7 separate regions of the Homo sapiens genome follow, and all the other regions are linked to region 7. Evidence: promoter capture Hi-C in 16 types of primary human blood cells and fetal thymus (Javierre and others, 2016). All regions are on one chromosome and are shown on one strand. Each heading gives the region's core, a stretch centred on a gene start or on the middle of the fragment in contact. The rest is flanking DNA. Distances are from core to core; before and after follow the strand shown. Region 1 has its middle 32 kb from the start of KIF4B. Region 2 overlaps UBLCP1 (ubiquitin like domain containing CTD phosphatase 1). Region 3 has its middle 9.3 kb from the start of UBLCP1. Region 4 overlaps SAP30L-AS1 (SAP30L and GALNT10 antisense RNA 1). Region 5 overlaps GEMIN5 (gem nuclear organelle associated protein 5). Region 6 overlaps MRPL22 (mitochondrial ribosomal protein L22). Region 7 holds the start of MED7 (mediator complex subunit 7).

Region 1 (3,543 bases), core at 427-2,926, 2.2 Mb after region 7:
GTTGGCAAGAAGGTGGAGAAAATAGAACACTTGTGCACTGCTAGTGGGAATATAAAATGGTACAACACTGTGGAAAATGGTGTGGTGATTCCTCAAAAAAGTAAATGTAGAGGCATAGATGGTCAAAGGGTACAAAGTTTCAGCTTGACAGGAAGAATAAGTTTTTGAGATCTATTGCACACCATGGTGACTATAGTTAATAATAATGCAATGCATATTTTTTAATTGCTAAGTGAGTGGGTTTTAAATGTTTATACCACACATACACACAAAAATAAGTATGTGAGATGATGGATGTGTAAATTAGCTTGATTTAATCATCCCATAAGGTACACATATAAGAAAACATCACGTTGTGCTGCATAAGTATATACAATTATTATCTGTCAATTTTTTTTTCTGAGACGCAGTCTTGCTCTGTCACCAGGCTGGAGTGCAGTGGCACGATCTCGACTCACTGCAACCTCCGCCTCTGAGGTTCAAGCGATTCTTATGCCTCAGCCTCCCGAGTAGCTGGGACTACAGGCGTGCACCACCACGCCCAGCTAACTTTTGTATTTTTAGTACAGACGAGGTTTCACCATGTTGGCCAGGATGGCCTGGATCTCTTGACCTTGTGATCTGCCCACCGTGGCCTCCCAAAGTGCTGGGATTACAGGCGTGAGCCACCATGCCCAGCCTATTTGTCAATTTTTTTAATTAAATTTTAAAATTAAGCATAGAATTACATATAATTCAGCAATCCTACTTCTGGGTAAATACCCAAAAGAAGTGGAAGCAGGGGATGGAACAGATGTTCGCACACCCGTATTCATAGCAGCATTATTCACAATAGCCAAGTGGTGGCAGCAATCGAAAGTCCATTTATGGATGAATAAATAAGAAAACTGTGATATGTACATGCAATGAAACATTACACAGCCTTTAAAAGGAAGGAAATCCTGTAATATACTACAACCAGGAATAACCTTGAGAACATTATGCTAAGTGAAATAAGCCAGTCATAAAATGACAAATAATGTATGATTCCACTTATAGGGAGCATCTAAAGCATCCAAGTTCATAGAAACAGGAAGTAGAATGTGGTTGCCAGGGGATAGGGAGAGAAGAGGAATAAGGAGTTATTTAATGGGTACAGAGTTTCAGTTGGGAAAGATGGTAAAGTTCTGGAGATGGACAGTTAATGATGGATGCACAACAAATGCAGTAGAACTGTACATTTAGAGATGGTTAAAATGGCAAGGCTCTTTTTTTCCTTTCCTTTTTTTTTTTTTTTTTTTTGGTAGATAAGGGGGTCTCACTATGTTACTCAGGCTGGTCTTGAACTCCTGGCTTAAGTGATCCTCCTGCCTCAGCCTCCCAAAGTGCTGGGATTACAGATGTAAGCCACTGCATCTGGCCTAAAATGGTAAATTTTGTGTTATGTTCATTTTACCACAGTAAATGAATCTGGGTATTTTAATATCCAGATCTAGTCATCCTCTGATGCTTCCCACCTCAGCATACTGCACATCCATTCACCCTGTGCTCAAGCCAGAGACCTGGGAACCTGCCCTGGAACCGCCACACTCCTGACCACCCCCAGTCAGTGCTGCTGCCTAAATGAATTTCCAGTCAGTCTACTTCCTGTCATTCCCTACCATCTCCCTGGTCCAAGGGACAGTCGTTTCTTACCTGAATTCTTTTTTTTTTGTTTTTTTTGAGACGGAGTTTCGCTCTTGTTGCCCAGGCTGGAGTGCAATGGTGCGATCTCGGCTCACCGCAATCTCTGCCTCCCAGGTTCAAGTGATTCTCCTGCCTAGCCTCCCGAGTAGCTGGGATTACAGGCGCCCGCCACCACACCCAGCTAATTTTTTGTATTTTTAGTAGAGACGGGGTTTCGCTACGCTGACCAGGCTGTGCTGGTCTCCAACGCCTGACCTCGTGATCCACCCGCATCCACCCGCCTTGGCCTCCCAAAGTGCTGGGATTACAGGCATGAGCCACCGTGCCCGGCCAACCTGAATTCTTAAATGACCTCCTACCTGGTTTCTGGCATCAGCTCAGGCCCCACTACCCAAGGCCATTGTCTACCAGAGACCAGACTGAGCTTTTACAGACATCAACCAGGCACTGCCACTCCCCAGCTTCAAAGATTCCCTTTATACTTACAGTGAAATCTGGACTCCTCTCCAAGACCACCTGTCCCGGAAGTCGGTTGACCTATTCGTACCTTGTGCCGCATCCTCCCCCACTCTGTGTTTCTGTGCTTCTCCATACACTCTGCTTTAGTTTCTCCAGTGAACTAGGTTCATCTTCATTTGGGGCCTTTGCCCATGGCACTGCCTTTGCCTGAACATTCTCCCCTACTCGATTTCCTGGCTAATCTCTCCTTGGACTTCAGGCCTCAGCAAAAATGGCACTTCCTCAAAGAGCCCATCACAGATGCCACATTGCTGAAAAGGTCCCCCTGCTATCCCCCAAGCACTCTCTTCTTTTCCTCCATGGTACTTTTTACATGTCTATATTTGTATATTCCTCCCTAGCCAGTGGACTGTCAGATTCCTGAGGTCGGCAACCATGTCTATGTTAATATTCCCAGCACCTAGAACAATATCTGGTGCATAGTAGCACTCAAACATTTGTTGGGTGAATGAACATGTAAAGAAATGCATGTTATTTTAGGTCACCCAAACAATAAAAACTGAAAGTCTTCCTCCTTTAACCAGGTAGCCTCCACCTTTTACTTTCTTAGATACACAGACAGGCCTCTGGACAGTTATCTGAAACTGGCTCCATGTACAGTATTCCATATGTCCTGTCATAACCACTTAATGTTGGTCATATACACTCAAAGGCCCTCTTGCAAAAGGGCCTCAATTTTCCTGAGATGGGGATAAGAGTGATGCTTGTCAAAGACAAGGTAATTGCTTGGGTTGTTTCCTGCAATGATATAAATCTGTTGGCGAGTGCCACACAGCTGTTCCTGTTCCTTGGTTTTTAATGGCATGCTGCCTTCTGTATTAGTGAACAAATTCCTTGAAACAACATGAGATTGGCAATATAGATGGAATATCAAATTAGGACTATGGTTGCCAAGCACTCTGGAGCGGTCCTGATTCCCTACCTAGCAGTAATAATAAACCCCAGCTCCTTCCACAGTTCTTCCACCCTTCTGCAAGCGATGTTCCCCTAGGTAACACTCCTACAAACAATACTTCGGTAATGACCAATGCTACAGTGATTATTATTGTTATTATGGACTCTATTTTATTTTCATTTAATTAGTAATTATTTTAAATTACAAGGCTGAAGAGCTGCTACAATGGGTGTTTCCTGGCAGTCAGTAGCTAATTCTCCATCAATGCAGAAATATGGGCTATTTTGAGTTCAGCCATTAGAGGCTATAGTGATGAACACCTCTCAGGGCCATATGGTGTAGTCTAAACCCAGTGTCTTTTCACAACAGTAGTTTTGCTTCTATTACCATTAAAGAGAAATATGTAAAAACTGTTTTCTCTCTAGACAGAGCTCCTATGCTGGCAGCCTCTTGAGTATCTGAGA
Region 2 (3,358 bases), core at 551-3,050, 2.1 Mb before region 7:
GTGATCACTAAAAGGACAGGAAACCATCATCTTGTCTCAGGTCAAGGAAGCATTTTTAGAAACTTAAGACTGTCTAGATAAGCTGAATTCTCCTATATCATAATTTCCTTGTACAGACAATAAAAATGGAGTTTTCAGCCGATAAACTGCTTTATCCATGACCAAGATTCACATTCTTTTAGTGTAATTCTAAATTCATATTCACAGTACCTTCCATGTACTTCAAACCTTATGACTGACAAGCTTATGTTTAATAGAAGTTAACTATTTTAAAAATGAGCAGTCTTATTTTTAAGATCTACATGAAATCTTTGAGATTTCTACCAAGTGCATTATGAAAGCATGATAACAAAACACAGCATTTGAGGATATTTCTCCATTTTAGAACTCTTTCTGGGCTGGGCGCAGTGGCTCATGCCTGTAATCCTGCACTTTGAGAGGCCGAGATAGGTGGATCGCTTGAGTGCAGGACCTCGAGACCAGCCTAGGCAACATGGCGAAACCTTGTCTCTACCAAAAATACAAAAATTAGCCAGGTGTGGTAACGTGCGCCTGTAGTCCCAGTTACTTGGGAGGCTGACATGTGAGGATCACTGGAGCAAGGGAAGTCGAGGCTGCAATGAGCTCTGATCATGCCACTGCACTCCAGCCTGGGTGACAGAGCAAGACCCTGTCAGAAAACCCCACCTGTTTCTATGCCGACGTGGGCAGATCTTTAATCTTAATCTTAACCTTTAATCTTTAACCTTAAAAGAGGTTTTCATGAAGTGTTATCTTGGGTAGATTAATTTTATAAAAAAGAGGTTTTCAATAAAAGACACACAAGGACAGCCTGTGGAGTGTCTAAATCTACCTCTGGAATTAGAATTTAGGGGATGGGGACATACGTATTTTTAGGAATTCCTTCAGTGGGTCTACTGAGTACAGTCTTTTAAAAACCCTACTGTAAAGTAACATAAAGAACTAGACATTTACAATAACATCTCTCCCTGCATCAAGAGATGAATGGAGCTCAAATGTTGGTTAGGAAAACAAAGTTTCTTTTAAACAAACATGAAACTAATGATTGTATTTTTTTTTTTAAAGTTAAACGTCTCCTCCAAAATTATTCCTTGACCATCATGGGATCACCTCCTTGCAAGAACAGGTAATAACCATTCGTTTCACAAACAATTAGGTTTACATCAACCACATTTCTTCTCAAGACTCAAGAATACATTTTTGTACCTTTACCTGGTGCAGTACATATTAAGAAAAGCACTTCTCTCCAAGCCTTAAACAGAAACCATTAAGGACAACATAACCACTTTTCTTCCAAGTCAACAGTTTTTATACTTATGGCAATTCACTACCTAGATTAGTATTCTTTCCCTAAAATATCCTCATTGTAAACAAAAACTCAAATCAACAGTCTGTAAGAAAGGTTTAAAAAATGTACTTTTAAGTTTTTCTCTCTTGTCTTTTAAAACTACCAAGGACCCAGCTAGTAGAAAAGTTTAGGACTGAGAATGAAAACATCTCAGTGTCAGGACTGCCACTTCGAATGGAGACTCCATGTGCAATAGTGCCATAGTATAGAGCTATCTTTTCCATTTTCATATTGCGCCAACATGTAATCAACTATGGGTACCAGAAACTTTTAAATTTCAAATTTCACTCTTACCAATTTTATACTGTTACCAGGATGAAATGTCACATAAGACTGCATGCAGTTGCATGCTAAGATTGTCACTGACCTAGGAACCAAGTCACTAGAGTCTAACCCAAATTCTGTCATTAGCCAGTTACATATACAATCTTGGGCAAGTCAGGAACTTCTTCAACCTCAGACTGTTTCCAAAGTTAAGAAGGTAGGCAAGAGATGACTGTGGTTCCTTCTAGCTCTGGCAATGTCTAATTCTAAGATCTGTACTTGCCGTCTAGGAATTTTCAAAAACGTCTTTAGTTTCAGTTTAAAAAGAAAAAACAAAGTACCCTTACTGCCATTTCTCAAGCTAACCAGAATGTTTAAAATGCCAAGATTTGTATACCTAAAAAAATAACTAATGATTTCACTTTGGATGCTAAAAGTCAATGTTGGGAAGCCCATGTTGCTCCCACAGAGCTAATTAAAAATAAAACACTTGGGCCGGGCGCAGTGGCTCATGCCTGTAATCCCAGCACTTGTGGGAGGTCGAGGTGGGCAGATCACGAGGACAGGAGCCTGAGATCAGCCTGGTCAACATGGTGAAACCCTGTCTCTACTAAAAATACAAAAATTAGCTGGGTGTGGTGGTGCGTGCCTGTAATCCTAGCTACTCAGGAGGCTGAGGCAGGAGAATCACTTGAACCCAGGAGGTGGAGATTGCAGCGAGCCGAGATCGCACCACCACACTCTAGCCTGGGCGACAGAGTGAGATCCCGTCTCAAAAATAAATAAATAAATAAACAAACAAATACTTGGATGAACTAGCTAACTATGGAGACATCAATGCAAAAAAGACAAAGTTCAATTTCTATATGAATTATTCTTAAACTTTTCTCGCCTATGACATAAGAATACAGTACTTCCAAAAATATATGAAATTCAACAGTGCTTACTACAAAAGTTCTACCACACAGCCCAGATTACATGAGCACATAACAAGTAAAAGTATGTCTTACCTTTAGTCCATTCTGTGGGTTCATTAGAAAATTTCTCCCTATGTCATCAAACATAATGGTGTTTTTCTTGCTGTAAAACTCCGAAAACTTTCCCCATATAACACCAAGAGGCTTTACCTTAGAATAAAAGTTTACATTTAACTCAAATTTTATCAATATTTCATCCTGTCTTAAAAGCAGGAATACTGCAAACTGCCCTGCAGAACAATGCCAAAGTGTTCCTTTCCCCCTGTAAGACAGGTGTGAGCTAATCATTAAATGCAACCCACTTTAAAGCACAATGCATTTTGCAATATTAAAACTTCTGAAAGGTTTGTTCATGTCCAACTGAACTAAACCCATTATAAAACTTTCCATAATTTTAACGTGAAGATTTTGGGTAAAATAAATAAATTATTTAATTTTTTAAAAATCCAAAGTAATTGTTTAGATGTCTGCTATGCAGTCACATGACTTCCTTGGTTAACACATTCCTTCTCAGAGCTTGGGAGTCACATGGAGTCTGCTTTCAAAACTAGAACACCCTAGTCAAAAAAAAACTGTATTTGGCTTTTTCAATTAATAATTTGAATATTTTATAGAGGAAAAACTCGTTTTGTCTTTAACTCAGTGGCACAGGTGCATAATTTCTAGGGAATTTGATTGCTTAACTTCGGAAGCACCATATTTTACAAATTCTTACTCTTATTTCTGAATTCTTAAACTGAAGCTTCAA
Region 3 (3,156 bases), core at 482-2,981, 2.1 Mb before region 7:
AAATTATACAGAGCACACTTAATTTTGTTAACAGGGAACTGTGACAACAGGCATGAATTGTGTCTACAAAGGAAGATTATTAGAGAATCAGTGCCCTAGGTTTTGGGGACAGTTGATTATTGTATTAGTCCCTTTCACTGCTGCTATAAAGAACTGCCCAAGACTGGGTAGTTTATAAAGGAAAGAGGTGTAATTGACTCACAGTTCCACATGTCTGGGTTGGCCTCAGGAAACTTACAATCATGGCAGAAGGTAAAGGGGAAGCAAAGACTTTCTTCACATGGCAGCAGGAGAGTATGTGCAAGCAGGGGAAATTCAGACACTTAGAAAATCATCAGATCTCATGAGAACTCACTCACAATCATGAGAGCAGCATGGGGGAAACCACTCCGATGATCCAATCACCTCCTACCAGGACCCTCCCTTGACATGTGGGAATTATGGGAATTACAATTCAAGATAAGATTTGGATGGGGACACAGACAAACTATGTCATCATGTAGATACCCACTGTCTTGCACCTATCAAAACTGCAGACTCTCAGAAGGAAAGCAGCTGTGCAGCAGAAGCTACATTGTTTGCCAACAGTCTAGTCTCAGTGAGCCATTCTTATCATTTGGGGAAAGTTTCATATCTGTATAGGAACTGTAGGATGTTCCCAGATGCCAGCCAAAGACCAATCTTGCAAGCAAGAATTTCTAAGGATGGCAGGCTTAGGCCTCCCATGGTAACTTTTCTGCATATGTGGTTATTAACTAAATGTTTTCTGCCTTACCAGGCTGTTCCTTTCCTGGTCCTTTGTCTAGAGACAGCAGGCTTGGGGTAGGGATGGGGGAGTGTTACATGAACCCCCTGGCATTTCTAGGTTGCCTGTATTGCCAGTACGTAGTCTGGGATATATGAAACAAAAAGAAATCCCAAGGAATTTGCTAGCATGTTTTTTAAGGTAAATAGCCAATCTGCCTTATTTCTACCTTCCAGAGTCCCCTTATATTTATTTTACATATACTGTCCAGGATTTTTAGCTATACTTAGCAGAAGAATAGGGAGACGTGCAACTGGAACTGTCTTGGAACTGGAAATCTCTGTATTACTTTTACAATGAGAAAAAAAGGCATTTTTTTGTTTTCGTTTTGAAAACAAAACATATCTATATATGACACAGCAAACAAAACAAAACAAAATAAATGAATAAATATGATATAGCAAGCTTAACCTAAATATAGGGCTGAAAAGTTACCAACAGGAGTGAAAAACATTATCATGACTTGATTCCACTTATTCTAACAGTAAAATGCATTTTCTCTCATTTATAAAAATAACATGTACTCGGCTGGGCGCTGTGGCTGACGCCTGTAATCCCAGCAGTTTGGGAGTCTGAGTTGGGTGGATCACCTGAGGTCAGGAATTTGAAACCAGCCTGGCCAACATGGTGAACCCCATCTCTACAAAAAATACAAAAAATTAGCTGGGCGTGGTGGCAGGCACCTGTAATCCCAGCTACTCAGGAGGCTGAGGCAGGAGAATAGCTTGAACCCAGGAGGGAGAGGTTGCAGTGAGCCAAGATTGTGCCATTGCACTACAGCCTGGGCAACAAGAGCGAAACTCCGTCTCAAAAATACAAAATAATAATAATAATAATATGTACTCATTATAAAAAACTGATTCTACTTTTCTTTGACACAGGTGGTTAATATATTAGTTTTCTTTATTTAGTAAACAAAATGAAAACTTCAAAGTTAGTAAAGATTGCAGGGTGGCAGAATATCTACATTCATTTAATTTCATTATCATTTATAGAGAAGAATATAGAGTAGAAATTTTCCCACAGTCAAAGGGTGGAACAGACCTTCCATAGATGTCCCATGCACAGTTTTAATAGGAACAATAAAATGTGTGCTTCTCTTTTATATCCAAAGTCTTGTGCATTAGAGATAGTATCTTCTTACTTATGGAATAATAATTACAATGTCCCAACCCACAAATTCTAGGCTAATGAAACTATTTCTGAGATGAAAATTTTAGCATAATATATTGCTGCCTAATCACATTCACTATGAAATCTTAAAAAAGAACATCAAATTGTTATGTTGTAGTATTTAACATTATGAAGTAATTTCATTTATTTGTTTTTTTACATCCACAGTGACTCATAAGTGAATAAATTAATATCTCCCATGCTTCAAAAAATATCAATGAAATGTTTAGACAGTTACAATCTAAACATTTACAACACAACAAGGCAAGCTTTGATTACCAATAAGCTATCTGTAATGACTAGGCTACCTTGTTTTATTCATTATGCTTCCAATCTTCAGGAGACATTTCTTTAACAATGTGTTTATTTCCAAAGAGCATTAGACAGGGTTCTAGAAGCAGCCTTGCCTAAAATTGCCCTCCTGACCTTGAGGCAATCAATTTCCCCTGACCTCAATTCCATTTGTAAAAATGAGTTTATTGAATAGCCAAAAGACAAAAAGATAAATACGTTCTGTGTTTCAGAGCCTCTATGGTTTAATAGTTCTCAGACAACAGCCTATGGGCCTGGGCTAGATTTTGACAGTTTCCATCAATCTTCCGTTTGCAAAATGAGAAACATAAGCATCACGTAATCCGTAAAACCAAATGGAAAATTCATGTTCTTCCTCTTTATTGACAGCTATTATTACTTCCCTGATATCTGCATATATCTCTCCTGGAATTTTCAGAGCTTCATCATTCATACTTAAATAAATTTTATAGAAAATTTACATTTAGTATGTAGAATTTTATTGAAAACATCAAAGTAGTAATTTTTTTCTTGCTACTGTATAAATATTACCTCAAGTGACTTGTTTTGAAATATTATTTATGGTTTTAAATAACAGAAACTTAAACATGCTAGCTTGAGCCTAAAGGGAGTTGAGGAGAGGAAGCAGGAGAGCAGTATTAGAAAGAGCACAGTACCAGACACAGTTATGCCTGTCGTTGAACCAGGAGTCAAGGTGAGTCCAAGATCCTCAACAATAAATTCTAGATCCATAGACCTTCTCTCAAGAACACTGCCATTCATATGACTCTGACTCCTAGTTTCTGTATTGCTCAGCTCCAAATTCCAAAATCCTGAGATAGAATCTTATTGGCCTCACTTAGGCCACATGTCCTTCTCTGAACCAA
Region 4 (3,199 bases), core at 107-2,606, 2.7 Mb after region 7:
CTGTCTCTATGGCTCATCATAGTTTCCAGTGCCCAGGCACTTGATTAATATTTGTTGAATGGATGGATAGATGGATGATGGATGACTTGGCCTCTGGAATCAAGAGGCAGTACAGCATAATGGTTGGTATAAATCTAGATGTAGTCAGCTTATGCTGGAATCCTGGCTCTGCCACTGACTAGCCTGGGAACCTTGGGAAAATTACATGGCCTTAGTCTGCCATGGTTTCCTCATCTGTAAAATGGGGATGATAGTAACCTCTCGGGATTGTTGTGAAGACTGTCTGAGTTATTAGATATAAACCAACTATTAGATATAAAAGTGCCTTGCACATATTAGGTACTCAATAAATATTAGATACTATTATTGGCTTAATTAGTCATAATTAGGTTTAGCAAGTAACAGAAAACCCAAAAATAAGCTTACATTTTTCTCTCACCTTCAGGAATCCTAGAGGTGATCAGATTGTTTTCCTCAGCATCAGAGACCGAGGCTTCTCTTGTTGCTTTGCCATGTTTGGCTTCCATTCCCAAGGTCGCGTCACTAAGCAAGGTGGCTGCTGGGACTCCCATCTACTGAGGCATTCTAGCCAGGAGGAAGGGGGAAAGGCAGAGGAAGGGCTCACCCTTGCTCTTTAAGGATAGTTCCCAGAAGTTGTAGGTGAGCCTCCCACTTGTACCTCTTTGGCCAGAATTTCGCCATACCTAACGGGGGAGGGGAACATTGGGAAATGTAGCCCTTATTCCTGGTGGCTGTATGCTCAGGTGAAAACAGAGGGCTCTGCTACACGTGGAGATGGGTGGAATGTATATGGAGCCCAACCAGCTGCTCTGCTATACCTCTTTTTAGAATTTCCCCATCTCTTAAATTCTGGGAGTGTGTCTTGGTTAATTTTGGTTCTGTTTCTCTGGAGAACACTGACTAATCTGGGCTGCAAAGACCTGTAGTTTTTTGATCCAGGGACCACTGCAGCCTCAGCATTTTGCCATTTCTCAAGTTTCTGAATTTTTTTTTTTTTTTTTGAGACGGAGTCTCACTCCGTTGCCAAGGCTGGAATGGGGTGGCGCAGTCTTGGCTCACTGCAACCTCCATTTCCTGGGTTCAAACGATTCTCCTGCCACAGCCTTCTGAGTAGCTGGGATTACAGGCACCCGCCACCACGCCTGGCTAATTTTTGTATTTTTAGTAGAGATGGGTTTCACCATGTTGTCCAGGCTGGTCTCGAACTCCTGGCCTTAAGTGATCCACTCACCTTGGCCTCCCAAAGTGCTGGGATTACAGGTGTGAGCCACCGCACTGGCTGTTTCTGAATCTTAACAATGTTCTCTGCAGCTTGCATTGCAAGAACTGGTACTGACTCCAACAGAGTATCACCCAGTCTTTAAAGGAAAGATTTACAGGTTTCAAACCTAGCTCTACATCACAATCACATAGGGAACTGTAAAAAAAATTACAAAAATCTCAGGCCTCATCTCAGACCTCCTAAATAAAATCTTGGTGGAAAGAGTATGAGGCTCTGAAATCTACATTTTAATACACATTAATTTAATCTATGGATGATTCTTAATGCACCTTAAAGTTTAAGACACCCTGCTTTAAAGGTTAAAGTATGTAATAAATCTTCATTGGAGGCAATTACCTCTTCTAGTCTAGCCTACTCACTTTCTTTCAAACATATGTATTTTCTTATATCTACTCTTTTGCTTACAGTGATCCCTGACTTAGACTCACTGGCTGTGAGACTTAGAAAGGGTCTTAGGAAGCCAATCCTTTATTTAAGCCTATCGGATTTGAGTTCAGCAAGGTTGAGCAACAAGTCCAAGCACACACAGTGATTAGTGGCTATTAGGATTGAGAAGGTATATGGTGACAGCATTTGCTGGGATTATCTTTAAAATCTCCTTCCCCCCAAATTAAGAGGTTATACACAATAAGGGGTTATACACAATTTATTTTGCCAAGTTAGGGCAGTTCCCTCTATAGCCTCTACATGCTCCACCCCATGTCTAGGTATTGGCCTTCAGGGCTGGGTACACTTGCATTCTCTCCATATCCTTTCCCTAGCTGATACTAGGTTTCCTTACAACCACCATATGCTAATGTCTCCCGTCAATAAATATCTGAAGACTTGTGTGCAAAACGACAGATTTGAAAGTGAAATAGATTGGTTGCCATTAGCAATATTTGGGAAAAATTCTGGTCTCTTTATTGGGGGAGTAAATCTGTAACTCCAGAAAGGAAATGGGAATAAATATTCTGTAGTGAAGAAATGAATACAGAACAGAAGCTTCTATGATCCTTGTTCTGCTTTGTGTAGGATTTAAGGTTCTTGAAATAGCCAAGTGAATCTGATTTGCTACATTTATACATTTAGGTAATTAATTTACAACAGTTGCTTAAATGCTTAGAAAGGTTTTGCTTTTTAGATTTGTAAGTCTGCCCTATTGGGCATTTAAAGTGAGAAAATCAGGCATATTAAATTGATAATTGTAGTTTTAAGTGTCTAAGGAAATTTGATTAAGGAGGTAAGTCTTATTAAATATTAAGGAGGATTGAATATACTAAACTTAAGAATTAACAGTAATCAAAGAACAAGTGAAAGTGATTGTTCTTATCTTTACACAAGAAATTGCTAGATTTAAAATGGAATAACAAGATTTTGTTCTTATCTTTATACAAGAAATTACTAGATTTAAAATGGAATAACAAGATTTGTAAATTGAACTTAAAGTTTAAGAAAGGCTAGGTTTTTAAATGGACAACTTGAGTCAGTGACTGTAAGATTCCTGTCCATACCCAAACCTACCCCCAGATATTTAAAGGCACAGGTCAATAACTCCCAGTTTTATAGTTCCAGCTGAGACCTCTCCTTTGAACTCCAGACAGCAACACTTCAGCTCCTTGCTTGAGGTGCTCCAGAGGCATCACAGACCAAGATGTTCAAGTTGAAACATTCTCTGACTCCGAATCCAGACTCCATAAACTGTGCCACCTGTACCTCCTTTAACTGCCTCTCACCACATCCTGAGGCCACTCATCATTGAGGCCATTTTCTTTCTTTCTTTCTTTCTTTTTTTCATATTTTTGAGATGGAGTCTCGCTTTGTTGCCAGGCTGGAGTGCAGTGACGCGATCTCAGCTCACTGCAACCTCCGCCTCACGGGTTCAAGCGAGTCTCCTGCCTCAGCCTCCCGAGTAGC
Region 5 (3,420 bases), core at 596-3,095, 2.2 Mb after region 7:
TAGTATCCAAATGCAACTGCATGGTGTTTTACTCAAGACAAAATTGTCATTTTGTTTTTAATTTTCTAGTAAAATGATTCTAGATTTACACGAAGCTACAAAAATAATACACATAATTTGCTTATATCCTTTACCCAGATTCCCACATTTAATTACATTTGTGTTCTCATGCTATCAGTATGTGCCAGAACTGTCTTTTTAAAGTCATACCTTAAATGTTGAGATTTCCTTATTTCCTTACCCTTTTTTGTGTGTGTGACAGAGTCTCACTCTGTCACTCAGGCTGGAGTGCAGTGGCGTGATCTTGGCTTACTGCAACCTCCGGCCTCCTAGGTTCATGAGATTCTCCTGCCTCAGCCTCCCAAGTATCTGGGACTGCAGGCATGGGCCACCATGCCCAGCTAATTTTTGTATTTTTTAAGTAGAGATGGGGTTTCACCATGTTGGCCAGGCTGGTTTTGAACTTCTGAGCTCAAGTGATCCACCTGCTTTGGCCTCCTTACCCTTTCAAATGAGTATTTTTATTTATTTACTTATTTATTTTTTGAGACAGAGCCTTGTTCTGTCGCCCAGGCTGGAGTGCGGTGGTGCGATCTCAGCTCACTGCAGCCTCCACCTCCTGGAATCAAGTGATTCTCATGTCTCAGCCACCTGAGTAGCTGGGATTACAGGCACGTGCCAAGACTGGCTAATTTTTGTGTCTTTAGTAGAGACAGGGTTTCACCATGTTGGCCAGGCTGTGATCTCGGACTCCTGGCCTCAAGTGATCCACCCCACTTGGCCTCCCAAAGTACTGATTATAGGCATGAGCCACCATGCCCAGCCCAAATGAGCATTTTTATATTATTGCTCATTACTTTTATGGCTAGTATAAAAGTAACATTTAGTTATAAATTGGGTTATATTGTTGATTATATTCCCTCATTGTCTTTAATTTTATCTAAACATTAACATTCAGCAATGAATAAGAGACAAAATTCGTGTTCCTAAGTCTCTTCTAATTTATTGGCACTTGAATGTGTGGATCAGAGGTTCATGCTAGGAGTCTGAGCTGGATATAGAAATTTTGAATCCCTTCACAATAAAGATAGTTGAAGAAGCTGTGGACATGTATGAGGTGGGTTAAAGAGACAATTAACAAGAGAAGAGGGCCCAGGCAGCCTTGGGGAATACCAGCATATAGATATGGGAGGGAAATGATTCAGGGAAAGAAGCTTTGAAGGGATAGAAAACAAGGAGAGTGTATATAGTTTTCTTTAAGGCCTCATGGTCCCCACATTGTCCAAGCTGATGGGCACAGATCAGTTTAATTAAGTATATATTTCACAAGGTTAAGCACTGTAAACATTTAGTACTTATTGGCCTTGGGGGTTTTTTTGTTTTGTTTTTTTGGCCCAGTTAGGAAATGAGAATTAGAATGCATGTTCTTAGTAATCCTTTTACTAATTATGTAGATTATTTACAAGAATAGCTGTTGTATAATTAAAACGTTTTTAAACTCTAGGGATTTTTTTTTCTCATGCTGTCATTGCTGATTTGTGAGATATGTATATAGTCAAGATTGGTTTGTTTTGCTTTCTAGTACAAATTGCCTGTACACACAGAGATAAGTTGGAAAGCAGATGGCAAAATCATGGCTCTTGGCAATGAAGATGGGTATGTATTTGCTTCTTTAAGATAAAAAATTTGCAATCGCACATATATTTGATCACAAGCTGACTAATGCCATCTGTAATGTTAGCTGGGGCGGCCCAGTTGTATTTGGTATTTTGATTTATTCTTGATATCCTCCGCTGATCCAGTAGTGCCTTGTGTCTTTGAGAACTACAGAATTATTTAGATATTTTCAGCCCATTGAGAGTATTTGGCTACACTGTATTTTGGCTGTCTTGTCCCTCACAAAATGGTCACCTCCTATGTTGAACTGCATAAATCTCCATTTTTTTAAAGTAAGCCTAGTCAGAAATGCTTTTTAGGTCTGTATCCTGACCAGTGTTAATCATAGTAACACAGTCATAATTCAGCCATTGATCTGTTAATTATTTTAGCTTCTCCCTATCATCATTTGTCATTAATGCCTGATGAACACAATTTTATCAAGCATTGTTAGAATGCTAGGAGATTGTTACACTGAGGTAGTGTGGAAAGTTAAAATTTCTAAAAATTAATTTTTTTAAGAAAAGAATTGTTAGGATATTGCTAGAATTTTTAAAAGCTAAATATACTTTTTGGAGAATAACTTTTTATACTTGATTTTTTATGAGAGAATGACCTTTGCAGTGATAGAAAGGGTTATCCTTTTCCACCTCATCTTTCCTTGACTGACGGAATGAGGGAGCTACTATTTGCATTGTAACTTGTAATTTGATCATCCATCTTTCTTGTTTTGATGTGTTTCTTATTCCAGATCAATAGAAATATTTCAGATTCCCAACCTGAAACTGATCTGTACTATCCAACAGCATCACAAGCTTGTGAATACCATTAGCTGGCATCATGAGCATGGCAGCCAGCCAGAATTGAGCTATCTGATGGCCTCTGGCTCCAACAATGCAGTCATTTACGTGCACAACCTGAAGACTGTCATAGGTAACTTTGGTTTCTTTCATACTGGGGATGATATCGTTTGTTCAGCTACTTTCCATTCTAATCTTTGTTACTTTTTACTTTATTTTTGACATTATAATAAAATAAGTATTATTCTTACTACTTTTTCTGTTTCAAAAGTGATAGATTCATCTTATTTTAAAATTCTTTCAAACATGACAAAAATGGTAACAGAAAATGAAGTTGGCCAGGCACAGTTGCTCACACCTGTAATCCTGGCACTTTAGGAGGCCACAACGAGAAGATTATTTGTGGCCAGGATTTTGAGACCAGCCTGTTAAATAGTGAGGCTCCGTCTCTACAAAAAATTGAAAATAAAAAACAAATTTGCCGGGTTAGAGGTGCATGCCTTTAGTCCCAGCTACTTGGGAGGCTGAGCTGAGAGGATCATCTGATTCTAGGAGTTTGAGGCTGCAGTGAGCTATATTTGCACCACTGCACCCTAGCCTGGGTTACAGAGCACACCCTATCTCAAAAAAGAAAGAAAAAAAAATGAAGTTTTCCCCTAAAATTTCATCATTCAATAACCAGTGTTATTGGCTTGCTATATATTTTCTCTAGATTTTATAAAGTCATAGCCTACATATGTATACATGTTAGTATATATTAATAGGTTTGCACTTCTGTGTACTTGTGTGAAAGAATAATCTTCTGTTCCTAGCTAAAAATAAATTGCTATATATAATATATAGTGCTTGCAGTTTTTTTCTCTAAATTTACAATATTTATCATGGACATCTTTTTATGTCAGTACACAAGGATCTATCTTGCTGTTATTAACAAATATCTGTCAGCCAGGCGCAGTGGCTCATA
Region 6 (3,533 bases), core at 115-2,614, 2.2 Mb after region 7:
GCTATCAAAAAAGCACTTCCTTTAAAATGCCTATACTTATTTCAGGGTACTGAAAGAACCATTGCTGAACCAAAATAGTAGCCAATAAGTAACTAGTTTTTCAAAACTCTAACAGAAGTCTATGGAATGAAATGTCTAGGCCTTTTCCAAGAACACAGTAAGATAAATCAGTTTCCCATATTTTATGGTTAAGAATCAATAGTTTATTAAACAACTGATTATTATTAACTTGTTTATTAAATAAACAGCTTCCTAGGCCTCTCCACTGGGGTTTCAAGTCCAGTGGGTCTGTGCCGAGGCCTGGGAATCTATATTTTAAATAACAACCTCAAGATGATTCTTAAGAAGCAGCTTGGCAAATACAGGGATAAAATGTCTGACACATCATACTCTTCCTGAGGGAACTCATCTCTTTTGATTATGGAATTAGGCATCAAAATACTTAGTGAATGAAAAATTTTAAAAATCATAATGTAAATCCAAATTTATTAGCCTTACTTAAGTCATCAACACAGAAGTAGATGAAAAGACAGTACAGGTAAGGCAGAGATTTTTCAGCAGAAATGTGCAAAAGAACTCTGGATTAAAGGGTCAGACAATGTGGCTTATGCCCGTAATCCTAACACTTTGGGAGGCTGAGGCAGTAGGACTGCTTGAAGCCAGGAGTTCAAGACCAGCATAGGCATCTAAGCGAGACCTCTGTCTCTACAAAAAATTTTAAAATTAGCTAAGTGTGCTCGTACGTGCCTCTAGTCCCAGCTACTCAGGAGGCTGGGGCAGGAAGATGACTTGAGACCAGGAGTTCAAAGCTGCAGTGAGCTGTGATCACACCACTGCACTCCAGCCTGAGTGACAGAGCAAGTCCTCATCTCCAAAAATAAAAAAAGATAAAATAAAGGGTCATTTATGTAGGATTGGTTAAGCATGTTTTTGCTTAATGGCAACAGTGGACCCTGCTCCTTCATTTGGAGCAACAGGATTAAGCTCTTTATCCTATCTCTCTTTACTATAATTATTGAAAAGGATTTAAAGACAGTTATTGAAAAAGGCTTAAAGACAAATCATATTTCATTTGTATCTGAAGTCCATTAGAAAGTCTATCAGCTACGAATCTCACATCCCTGTGAAACTGCATAAAATTAATTAAATTTGATTTGATATTCAGAGTCACAGAGCAGGAAGAATCACCAAGAGGTTTTAAGCAAATGGTCTTGCTCCTCATCCCTTCCAATGGTTCCAAGACCTCTCCAACATTATTTATTCATAATGCTCCCAGAAGAAAATGCTTATGATTAACTACCATGGCCCTGCATCTTGGGTTGCCATTTTGATTTCCCTTTGCATCTTTGCATGTATCAAAATAAAATTATACAAGATTCAGCTTTAAAATAAAGCATTTCAACTGAAAATCAACTAATTTGAATTTCAGGAGGTGTGGTGGCCAACATCAATGCCAGGTGAGTTGAACTGAGATTTTAACCTAATCAGCACAGAGGCTATGTGAAAAAGTAGAATTTAGATAATTTTTTTTTTACTCTAATTGTTGAAAAATTATAAAATACAACTAATTCCCCCTGTATTGATTCAGCCCTTTCTCCTCCATCTGGAGAGTAGATGTTCCCCATATCTTGAATTTAAAATAGCTTTAAGTAAAATAATCTTTATATGTTGGTATGGCAGATTGAGAAAACTTTGCTTCAACATCAACATCTTTGTTTGAATATAAAACTGCTGAGGTTAGGAGTAATTGCTGTAGTGAGAAAAAAATAATAACTCCAACCACTGCTCCACTTTCCCATGGTGTTGGGAGGAGGCAAGAGAGCTTTGTAATAAACATTAATCTCCTTCTCAGAAAATAACTGTGTGACGGTCTGCAGCAAAAAGATTCCTTACATTTGTACAGCACATCATGCTTCCCAAAGCATTTTAACTTATATTAATTTAATTTGATGTGGAACAAGCATGTAAAAGCAGAGCTAATGCTTCAGGATGTAGTAACAAAGTGGAACAAACACATCTGGGTCATCTGAGCCTTCCAAGGCCCCTTGGCTTTTACAATTCAACAGACCTTCCATTTTGATAACTGTAAGGTTAAATTACAGGACACCTTTATGGATTAGGCATCTGGCTTGGCACATTATAAATAAAAATTTTTTAAATGCACCTGTGATTATTTACCTCCTTCTGGTTGACAAACAACTTTAAAAATGTGTTAATACTATTTGTTATAATATTACAATTAAAGTACCACTCTATGTACCCCAGTCTTGGTATCTATTATTTAATAATTATTAGCAATTGGCTTTATGATCTCAGTCTCACTACAGAACAGGTAAAACAGTACAGTTATTGTCATTTACACTAAATTAAAATTGGCATGCATACAGCTGAAGAATAAGCCATTACTAGCAATTTTCACTGACAAACCAAGTCCTGAGGAGTTAGATATTAAAGACTGTTGTTAGATAAAAAACATGGCATTACTACTGAAGACATTTTCTAATGCTAAGAATATTAAAAATCTTACCTATATATAAATTGGACCTGAATTCCACGTTATGGTCTCTCACTGCCATATCTTGTGCTTCTAAGAGAACCTTAAATAAGAAAAAGAAAAGCATTTATACGGCTAAACCTGAAGTAAAATGGAATTAAGTTTCTCATCTCTCATTATCTCTGTACTATGACTGCTAATCACATGCTTCCATAGTCAATTTTAAAAAGACAATATCAAATGATAAGAGTACAAAGGAGAAGGGAGCTTTCCTGCCTTAGACCAAGAAGTGTAAATGCATAGAACACAGCCCATCCTACTAAGTTTTAAATGACATGTGTAAGCTATAAAGGAGATAGCGGTGCTTGTAAGCAGTACCCTTGGGAAGGAACATTATGTCTTTGAGTCAGAAACTTGTCAAAAAGTTCCCAAGGCCAGATGCAGTGGTTCACATGTCCATGGTCCCAGTACTTCGGGAGGCCAAGATGGGATGGGCAGACCACATGAGGCCAGGAGTTTGAGACCAGCCTGGCAAACATGTCAAAACCCCGCCTCTACTAAAAACACAAAAATCAGCCAGGTGTGGTAACACATACCTCTAATCCTAGCTATGTGGAAGGCTGAGGCTGGAGGATCACTTGAACCCAGGAGGTGGAGGCTGCAGTGAGCCAAGATTGTACCACTGCACTCCAGCCTGGGCAACAGAGACCCTATCTTAAAAAACAAACACGAAGTTCATGAAACTCAATAGCTTAATCTTACTGAAAAGTCTTAGCTGGGATGGTGGCTCATGCTTATAATCCCAGCACTTTGGGAGGCTGAGGCAGGAGGATCCCTTGAGGCCAGGAGTTCGAGACCAGCCCATCTCTACAAAAGTGAAAAATTTGCTGGACGTGGTGGCACACACCTGCAGTTCCAGCTATTTGGGAAGCTGAAGGACGAAAATCCCTTGAGCTCAGGAAGTTAAAGCTGCAGTGAGCTGTGATCATGCCACTATACTCCAGCCCTGGGCAATGGAGTGACACCCTGCCTCTAAAAA
Region 7 (3,297 bases), core at 88-2,587:
AGTCCAGGTGAGAGATAATGGTGGCATGGCATAGGACCATAGCAGTGGGAACGGTGGTCAGTCATATTTGGAACTTTATTTACTTATTTTTAAATAGATCTAATGCAAAAGGCTGGTATGGTAGTTTCGGTGGGGTATGTGAGAAAGGAGAAAAAGGTGATTCCTTCGATTGAACATTTGCAATTGAGTAAAGTGCAACTGGGGAAAGATGTCTGTCACCACTGGATATGAGGGTCTGAAGTGCAGAGGAAACGGTGTTCCAGGGCCTGCATGTAATCATCCAGCTGATATCTGACTGAGAAGTGGTTGGAGAACTGAGTCCTGGGGCAATCCATTAATCAAATGTGCCAAATGCTGCTGACAGATGGAGTAAAATGAGGACTGGGAACGACCATTGGAAGTCACTGGTGCAGGATACATTGGGGTCAGCGGTGAGGAGAAAAGCTGGATTGGGTTATGCTCAACGTAGATGGATTTCTTCAGGAAATAAATTGATACGTGCGAGGGATTTAAAATGGGGGAGTCCGGAAGTGGTGGTTCACGCCTACAATCCCAGCACTTTGGGTGGCCGAGGCGGGCGGATCACTTCATATCAAGAGCTCGAGATGAGCCTCGCCAACACGGTGAAACCCTGTCTCTACCAAAAATACAAAAAAAAGAAAAAAAAATAGGTGAAACCCCAACTATTCGGGAGGCTGAGGCACGAGAATCGCTTGAATCCCGGAGACTGAAGTTGCAGCGAGCCGAAATCGCGCCACTGCAGTCCAGCCTGGGCGAAAGAGAAAGACTCCGTCTCAAAGAAAAAAACAACAAAAAAACCCTGCATGTCTATATTTTCGAATTTGTATGTAAGACGTCTTAATTGTATGCGTTAAATTAAAAAAGGACAAAAGGAATGGAACTACCAGCAGCGACTAAGTCAGTAAAAGAGTGGTAATGGGGAAGGGGGTGGAATATACGCAGGCGCAATAGCAAGCGTTTCTTTTGGAGGTTATTTTCGTGTCATAAATTTCTAAATTCACGTTAAGTCTTACAAGAGCATGTTAAACATTAAAACATAAGATTGTTTCTGGTCAATAAGGGGTCTATAAAAAATAAAGCAATAAGGTGTCTTGTTCAATTTTATGCCTTAATTCAAAAAGAAACGAAGAAACGGAACCCTCAGCTACGACTTTTAAAAGTCAGTAACGGGTGGATGGGAGGAGTCAAACATACGTAGGCGCAACAGCGAGGGATCGGTCTGAGGCGGAGCTAGAATTTCGTTAAAGGACAGCTCTTACAGCCAATCAAGGACAGAGTCGGTGGCTTCTTCCCGGAGGAGACCGGAAGTTGGTTTCGGCTGCAGAGGGGAAGGCGGCTACCAGTGTAAAGCCAGAGCTGAGGTAAGTGGGCGGCAACGGTTTGGGGCCGCCGCCTGTGTGCGTTTTTTTCTTCCGGACCCCGCAGCTTCCTCTGTGCTGGGCTGGGAACTGGGGAGGCATGGCTGAGTTCGGCCTCCAAAGGCGGTCTTTCGTCTTTCTCTCCCGAGTCTCTCCGAGAGTGCGGTCTCTCCGAGAGCGCGGAGGCCTCGGGGTGGACAGCCTGGAGGAGGGGGCTCTAAGCGTGGCAGTCTCGGGGCTTCCTCCGTGTTGGGACGCCGAGCCGGAGTGGAGGTTGGGAGACCTGGCGTCTAGTCCCCGCGCCGCTGTTTTTCTAAGCTGTGTGGCCTTGGGCGAGTCATTTGCCCTCTCCGGCTCTTTGTAACATGAGAGTAGCCCTCCCTGCCCTTCCTTCTTCTGGGAGCAGTTATGAAACAGCTGAGGTATGGGGGCAGGCGAGGGCGGTAGATCCCAAGCCTAATCGTCAGGTCCATCTGGAGAGGTTTTAAAAGCGACATTCTAGGGCCCATTCACAGTAGACAGAATGAATCAAATCTCTGGGGCTGGGACCCTGGAATGTCTGTCGTCTTCTGGTGAAGCTCCTTCTCCCCCAGTAGAACAAACACTAGATGTTGGATCTTGAGTTAAGAACCAGCTCTGATGCTTGGCTCTGCTTTTATTAAAAATAAGACCTCCATCACCTTTGAAAAGTTCCATCTAGAGAGACAGTAGAGAAAGAAATATAATTTTTGTGATATGCCAGTCCTTATTGTACAGTTAGATGCTTCTCGGCTTAGGGATATAAGAGAGCTTGCCCTTTGGAGCTAAAGGGACCTGGGATAAGAATTCCTGTTGTGCCATTTATTAACCTTTTGATCTGGGGCAACACTTCCCCTCATTGAGACTTCGGATCCTCACTTCTAAAATGAAATTGATAATAGAACTTAATTCGTGGGACCGTGTGGTGGCTCACGCCTGTAATCCCAGCACTTTGGGAGGCCGAGGTGGGCGGATCACTTGAGGTCAGGAGTTCCAGACCAGCCTGGCCAACATGGTGAAAACCTGTCTTTACCGAGAAATACAAAAATTAGCTGGGCGTGGTGGTGCGCACCTGTAGTCCCCAGCTACTCAGGAGGCTCAGGCAGGAGAATCCCTTGAACCCGGGAGGCAGAGGTTGCAGTGAGCCCTGATGGTACCACTGCACTCCAGCCTGGGAGACAGATTGAGCCCTTGTCTCAAAAAACAAAACTAACAACAAAAACCCCAAAAACCTTAATTCATAGAATTGTTAATGAAGATTATGTTACAGAGGCCATAAAAAATGGTACCTGTCATGTAGTTGGCCTTAGGAAAATGGCAGCCGCAATACAGGAATGCACATCGTGTAGGAAAGTACAGAGCAGCACTCCTCACCTAAAAAGGTTTGAGTGGGATGAAACGTGAGCTGTCAAAAATTGTATTTTCTGCCGGGCACGGTGGCTCACGCCTGTAATCCCAGAACTTTGGGAGGTCGAGGCAGGTGGAACACGAGGTCAGGAGATCGAGACCATCCTGGCTAACACGATGAAATCTCGTCTCTACTGAAAATAGAAAACATTAGCCGGGCGTCGTGGCGGGCGCCTGTAGTCCTAGCTACTCAGGCGGCTGAGGCAGGAGAATGGCGTGAACCCGGGAGTCCGAGCTTGCAGTGAGCCGAGATCGTGCCACTGCACTCCAACCTGGGTGACAGAGCGAGACACTGTCTCAGGGAAAAAAAAAATGTATTTTGAAGTACCAGATCACTGTTAATTCTTTGATTTTGGTAATTGTGCTTTGGGTAGAAGAAAACATTCTTGTCACGAGAAAACACACTGAAGTATTCAGGGGTAAAGGAATGAAAAACCAATAAAGCAAATGAAGGAAAATGTTAACATTTGGAGAATCTGAGTGAAGAATATGA

What was found. Contacts are between HindIII fragments. The CHiCAGO score rates a contact against its expected background, and 5 or more counts as called.
Region 1: a fragment that was not itself captured here is called in contact with the fragment with the promoter of MED7 in region 7 in 1 of 17 cell types (endothelial precursors); the score reaches 5.4 in endothelial precursors.
Region 2: a contact is called between a fragment that was not itself captured here and the fragment with the promoter of MED7 in region 7, in 1 of 17 cell types (neutrophils). The highest score is 5.2, in neutrophils.
Region 3: a contact is called between a fragment that was not itself captured here and the fragment with the promoter of MED7 in region 7, in 1 of 17 cell types (neutrophils). The highest score is 7.1, in neutrophils.
Region 4: a contact is called between a fragment that was not itself captured here and the fragment with the promoter of MED7 in region 7, in 1 of 17 cell types (neutrophils). The highest score is 9.4, in neutrophils.
Region 5: a contact is called between a fragment that was not itself captured here and the fragment with the promoter of MED7 in region 7, in 2 of 17 cell types (naive CD8 T cells and naive B cells). The highest score is 5.4, in naive CD8 T cells.
Region 6: a fragment that was not itself captured here is called in contact with the fragment with the promoter of MED7 in region 7 in 2 of 17 cell types (total B cells and naive B cells); the score reaches 7.2 in total B cells.

Annotation. Positions count from the first base shown.
Region 1 is chr5:154,980,410-154,983,952 of GRCh38, reverse strand. No RefSeq gene overlaps it. Among named protein-coding and RNA genes, the nearest start is that of KIF4B, 32 kb to the left of the region's middle. The HindIII fragment of the contact is 4,811 bases long and covers 1-3,543 here.
Region 2 is chr5:159,277,640-159,280,997 of GRCh38, reverse strand. It overlaps UBLCP1 (ubiquitin like domain containing CTD phosphatase 1), which reads right to left. Exons shown (of 11, transcript NM_145049.5): 9 at 2,644-2,760. Among named protein-coding and RNA genes, the nearest start is that of UBLCP1, 16 kb to the right of the region's middle. The HindIII fragment of the contact is 3,109 bases long and covers 246-3,354 here.
Region 3 is chr5:159,252,382-159,255,537 of GRCh38, reverse strand. No RefSeq gene overlaps it. Among named protein-coding and RNA genes, the nearest start is that of UBLCP1, 9.3 kb to the left of the region's middle. The HindIII fragment of the contact is 1,037 bases long and covers 1,213-2,249 here.
Region 4 is chr5:154,438,243-154,441,441 of GRCh38, reverse strand. The region is part of intron 2 of SAP30L-AS1 (SAP30L and GALNT10 antisense RNA 1); the gene reads left to right. Among named protein-coding and RNA genes, the nearest start is that of SAP30L-AS1, 6.0 kb to the left of the region's middle. The HindIII fragment of the contact is 1,866 bases long and covers 424-2,289 here.
Region 5 is chr5:154,916,167-154,919,586 of GRCh38, reverse strand. It overlaps GEMIN5 (gem nuclear organelle associated protein 5), which reads left to right. Exons shown (of 28, transcript NM_015465.5): 12 at 1,583-1,656; 13 at 2,408-2,589. Among named protein-coding and RNA genes, the nearest start is that of GEMIN5, 20 kb to the left of the region's middle. The HindIII fragment of the contact is 1,257 bases long and covers 1,217-2,473 here.
Region 6 is chr5:154,959,044-154,962,576 of GRCh38, reverse strand. MRPL22 (mitochondrial ribosomal protein L22) reads right to left here. Exons shown (of 7, transcript NM_014180.4): 6 at 2,528-2,597. Among named protein-coding and RNA genes, the nearest start is that of MRPL22, 20 kb to the right of the region's middle. The HindIII fragment of the contact is 7,858 bases long and covers 1-3,533 here.
Region 7 is chr5:157,140,905-157,144,201 of GRCh38, reverse strand. MED7 (mediator complex subunit 7) reads left to right here and starts at 1,337. Exons shown (of 2, transcript NM_004270.5): 1 at 1,337-1,382. RefSeq lists enhancers at 710-809, 1,620-1,669. The HindIII fragment of the contact is 9,177 bases long and covers 1-3,297 here.